Regions from separate parts of the Homo sapiens genome. Here region 1 is linked to region 2. Evidence: promoter capture Hi-C in human tissues and cell types (Jung and others, 2019). All regions are on one chromosome and are shown on one strand. Each heading gives the region's core, a stretch centred on a gene start or on the middle of the fragment in contact. The rest is flanking DNA. Distances are from core to core; before and after follow the strand shown. Region 1 has its middle 28 kb from the start of LINC01732. Region 2 holds the start of STX6 (syntaxin 6).

What was found. The method cuts DNA at HindIII sites, captures the fragments that hold promoters and counts their contacts. A contact is called where the count stands out against the background at its distance.
Region 1: a fragment that was not itself captured here is called in contact with the fragment with the promoter of STX6 in region 2 in 2 of the 25 tissues and cell types used here (H1 embryonic stem cells and neural progenitor cells).

Annotation. Positions count from the first base shown.
Region 1 is chr1:181,145,432-181,148,131 of GRCh38, reverse strand. No RefSeq gene overlaps it. Among named protein-coding and RNA genes, the nearest start is that of LINC01732, 28 kb to the left of the region's middle. The HindIII fragment of the contact is 3,293 bases long and covers 1-2,700 here.
Region 2 is chr1:181,021,544-181,024,243 of GRCh38, reverse strand. STX6 (syntaxin 6) reads left to right here and starts at 1,374. Exons shown (of 8, transcript NM_005819.6): 1 at 1,374-1,605. The coding sequence starts at 1,571. RefSeq lists silencers at 1,093-1,192, 1,313-1,442 and an enhancer at 851-1,634. The HindIII fragment of the contact is 9,160 bases long and covers 1-2,700 here.

The DNA of each region.
Region 1 (2,700 bases), core at 50-2,549, 120 kb before region 2:
TTTTCTAAAATGGGATCATGATCATATCACACGTCTACGGATCACACTTGAGGGATGTCTCGCTCTCCCTAGGACGAAGTCCAAATGCCTAAATACGGCTTCCAAGACCTCTGATGATCCAGGCCTGCTTAGCTCTCCATCTCACCCCCACCCCATTCCCCCTCAAACTTGACATTCCCACTTGCCACTGGCCAGGCGCTCCGTGCTCTCTCACTTTTCCAGACCTTGGGACATGTGGCCACTCATCCCGTAACATTCCCTCCACTCCCTTCTCTTGGCTGATTCCCATGAGTCCTTCAGGTGTCCACTTAGCGGTCACCTCCCTGGCACACCTTTCCACATACCTCCACCCAGTCAGAGCTAGATGCTCACGCCTCTCAATGCACATAGCTCACATGCTGAAGTGCCCTGGTCACTGTCTCCCACTCCAGACCATGAACTTTCTGACTATGAGGAATGTGTTTTCTTCCCTGTTATATCCTCCAGTGCTCAGCCAACTGACATACAATTCCAAAGAGATAAATAGCATTGTTACAAGGGAAAACACGGCAGACATCAAGGTGAATAGTGTTGAATGAATGAACTACTGCAGAGGAAGATTTTGGAAGGCTCTTCATTCTCCTTCATGGAGATGTGAAAGATGCCTGGAGTCAATTATAAGTCATCTTCCAAGACAGTTCCACCCACAGGTAGTTAATCTCATTTATTTGGGGCTGCTTTTTGTTGGCTTCAACCTCAGAGGATAAACAAGTTTGTTTTTGTTTTTGTTGCTGTTGTTGTTTTTGAGAAAGGGTCTCACTTTCTTGCCCAGGCTGGAGTGCAGTAGTGCAATCTCGGCTCACTGCAACCTCTGCTTCCTGAGCTCAAGAGGTTCTCCAGTCTTAGCCTCCTGAGTATCTGGGACTACAGGCATGAACCACTAATGCCCGGCTAATTTTTTTGTATTTTTGTAGAGATGGGGTTTTGCCGTGTTGGCCAGGCTGGTCTTGAACTCCTGAGCTCTAAGTGATCTGCCCACCTCAGCTTCCCAAAGTGCTGGGATTACAGGCATGAGCCACCGTGCCCACCAGGATAAGCTATTTTTAACTTTGTCTCCCAAATTTTGAGAAGTGTCCTGTTCTGAGGCCTGAATGCAACTCTGAATTGCCCTTTGGGCATTTCTTTGACTCCTGATCACATTTCTGATAATTTATATTTCCCACTCCACCCCATCTACAAGGTTTTAGGGTATTTGTGAAGAAAGGAGTATCAACAATGTACTACTTTTAAACATAAATAACTAGATTATGTATTAAAGTCATATTCATCACTGATTCGTACATGCATGAGTATATACTTTCTTATTGATATCTGTACTTTCTTATTGATCAATACTTGACAAAGCACTTGCTGGCATAGGCAAAATGGCATCTCCTTCTTCCTTTTGGCATTCAGTTAAAACAATCCACACAGGCTTCATCTTCCTTTCTTCTCTTTTTCCTTCCCCTCCCTTCCTGGCCTGGAAGAGTCACATAGGGCCCCTATGGGGTACTGACAGAGAGGGGGCTGCTGTGTGGAGTTCACTGATGATATGCCTGCTGGCACCTAAGGATACAGGGCACTAGAGGTGGGGACAGGGAGTAGAGGTGAAAGACACAGCTGCTGTCATTGGGAGATTGATTACGTTACAAAAATAAGTAAACTTATTGAGCAAATAAGTACATATCTTGAGGATAATGACAGTCCGGTTTCTTACTGTTGGAGAAGAGAATTACAAATATAGAAAAGAAGGAAACTATAAAGAACACTGAGGTGGATTGGAACTGGAGGTGTGAGTATCATCGACTTACTGTTTTCTGATATATAAACACAGGTAGATATGGAAATAGTTGTAGATGTGTGTATACACCTGTGAGTGTACATATGCACACATATATTTCCTAGATCTGTCCACTCAACAGGCCTAGAAGCAATGACACCTCAGTAACAAGAAGCACACTAAGGGCTCAGATTTTGGTTCCTAAACACCATCCTCCACTACAAGAAGGCAGGGCTCCTTGGAGAAAGAGCTAATTCCAGGCTGGAGAAGGAAAAGTACCATGATGAGCCTTGGTCATTTTGTAGTGCCAGAAAGTAAGACAGTGCTGAGAATGGTGGAGATGTGTCAGAAGGAGGCAGGAGCCAAGCTGAAGGGACTCCACTGGCCATATCTGGAGCAATGTGAACATCAAAATAAACAAGGACGGCAATGGAATACAATCCATTGAATAAAACAAGATTCCCTACTGAAATAAATATGCAAACGAACATAGAAAATGGGAAAGCTTTGTATTACAGTAGCCCACCAACTAATAAAATGAAAAGGAATGATGGAAATAGAAAACCATAATTTGGAAACTGTCATAGTTGTGGTTGATTCTGGCAGGAGACATCAATGGAGGCTAAGATTGGGAGATGCAAGTTTGATAAAGAACAGGATTACCTCCCCACAAAATGCCATCAATTTAAAGGGGGTAAATGGGGTCTTTATAGGAGAGAAACCTGGCAGACAAACGTTGGTACGTGACTGGTGATCAAAATAAACAGTTCCAGTTGTGGAATGGATTGACATCCTATGTCTCCTCCTTCCACCCCATGCAATTTGCTGAAATGAGAATAGCATCATTTCTGTGGTGTTCTTATCAAGGGAGCATGACCCAAGTCTGGACACCAGGACATTAG
Region 2 (2,700 bases), core at 125-2,624:
AACACTTAACATCCTGCCTGACACACACACACAGTAAGTGCTCAATGATTTTCAGCAATCAAAGTCCACAATCCCCATCCACAAATTTCATAGCATATCTAGCATATGAGTTGGTTAATGGTTCTGGGCAAAATGTTTTCTCGAATAGCTCTTGAACCACAGTGAGAGGAAGTTGTCATACCTGGCCCCTTCTTTATTCCTCGAAGGTGTGCTCTCCTGGGAAGCACCATATGCTGTATGAAAAATTACTTTACATGGTTATTTGCAGAATGTACAGCAACAGAAAGTACACCCCATCTGGTGGAAAGTGCACAGAATCTGCAGTTCTGCCCTGTCCAGGCTGTGTGACTACAGGAAGTCTTCAAGCCTCTCTGAACTTATTTTCTTATCTACAAAATGAGAAAAATGGATGGTGTGGTGGCTCACGCCCATAATCCCACCACTTTGGGAGGCAGAGGCAGGAGGATCATGTGAGCTCAGGTGTTCAAGGCCAGCCTAGGAAATATACTGAGAGCCCCATCTCTATAAAAAATTTAAAAATTAGCCGGGCGTGGTGGCGCTCACCTGTAGTCCCAGCTACTCGGGAGGCTGAGGCCGGAGGATCGCTTGAGCCCAGGAGGTCAAGGGTGCAGTGAGCTGTGATTGTGCCACTACACTCCAGCCAGGGTGACAGAGAGAGACCCTGCCCCCCAAAAAGGGGGAGGGGGGAATAATACTTTCCCCCAAAGGATACTGAGATGATGCATACACAACCTTTAGCACACTGTCCAACACAAAGCAAGACCTACTTAAAGGATCTGTGTAACATTATAATCAGATACTATGCTTCATTTTAAGTCGAGGACCAGATAGATTTATAAATTACATACTGTCAAAATTAAGTATTAAAAGTAGAGGAAAGGTAAGAGGATTTTGCAAATCAGGTACAACTACAGCTTATCCTGAAAAGCCGACTGCCTAGTTCTGAGGGAACAAGCCACTCCTCACCCTCAAGCTTGAGGAGAGGGCTGTAGAAGCCCGCCCACCTCCACCGCCCCGAGGGCTCCGCCTCCAGGGCCGAGGGACGCAGGCGTAAGCCCCGCCCACTGGGGGGGGGGGGAGAGAGAGAGAGAGAGAGAGAGAGAGAGAGAGAGAGAGAGGAGAGAGAGGAGAGAGAGGAGAGAGAGGAGAGAGAGGAGAGAGAGGAGAGAGAGGAGAGAGAGAGAGAGAGAGAGATATATGCCCTGGTCACGTGAGCGGGGTGCGGAAGTCGTGTTTCAGGCGGCGTTCGTGATTGGCCGCGGCCGAGGGTCCCGGGGGTGGGGTCAGGCCCTCCGACGCTTCGGGAGGAGCCGGGACTGGAGGCTGCCGAGGGGGCCGGCGCCCGAGTCCGGGATTCGGCCAGTGGTGCTGAGCGAGTGCTGGACCAGCGGCCGTCCTGTGCACCTGGCCTGTGCGCGTGCCCGCTGCTCGGCTTCACCCAGACTAAGGCGCGGGCAGCTGCGGGAACAGGCGGGGTGGGCGGAGGGAGACCGGGAGGCACGGGCGCCCTGTGCGCGGAGGAGGTGAAGGCGGCCGGGGCCGGGACGCCATGTCCATGGAGGACCCCTTCTTTGTGGTGAAAGGGTGAGTGTCGGCCGAGCGCTCCACCGGAGGAAGAGGTGGCGGTGCTGCCTGCCCGCACCTCCTAGGTCTTCTCGCAGTGGGGGGAGGGGAGGCAAGTTGGAGCTGGGGAGGGGGAACAGTGGAGACGGCTTAGTCTTGAGGGCCATGACCAAGCGTCAAGAGACGTTCCCTCCATCCCTACCTGGACCGTGAAGCCACTGTCCCCAGCCAAGCCCCTGGTGGTGGGGGGCCCTTTTTGGCCTGTGTGCTGCGGTACAATTTATTTGGGGGCCGAGGGGCTCAGCAGCTCTGCAGGTGGGGAAGGAGACACGCGGGTCCTGGCGCACACTGGCCGTCTAGTCGAGCATGGGATCTTGCTTCGAAGGAGCGAAAACAGCATCTGGGCAGGAAAAGGGAAATGGCCCTCCTGAGCTTTGTAGTTCGCGTTGACGGGGGTGAGCTCCATTGTCCATTGAGTTTGGAGCGCTTGTCCGCAGACTGGCGAGACCACAACAAGCCCAGAGGCGTCTGAGCACGTTTGCTGGGAGGGAGGCGGGGGCGGGGGCCGTTCTGGGAGGCTGGGGAGCAGGGCACCGGAAGACAATTCAATGGGGGAGTTTTTACTGAGTAATGTGAGGAGAGGAAAGCAGTCGTTCATACTCAGTGATGATTTGGAAGGAAAACAAAATGAAACAAGCCAAACCAAACTTTCCTCAGCTTTCTATTAGCAACCGGAATTTTCTCACAGTGCTAAAGGAAATGAGTGTTGCTTGTTAACTCCTTGATTTCATCCAGGTTGTTTGACAGGTTTCTCCTATTTCTTCTGCCTTTCAGAATAGAAAGGACTGCCTTCTGTTCCCTTACAAGCTATCCTAGCTCATCTTTGATTGCTCGATTGTTTCTTTGGAGATAGAGTCTTCAACTGCACTTTGTAATATCCACTTCGTAGCCATTAAACACATGCAAGAAGATCAATTCTGATGTAACTTTTAGTTTCTTATTAGAAACTTGTCAGTTTTCTGTTTTAAATGTCAAACATGAAAAATCTGAAAACTGCAAAGTTCCCAGGTCAGTACTGATCACCACAGAATGTCCCTTGCTTTTTACTAGTTGCTG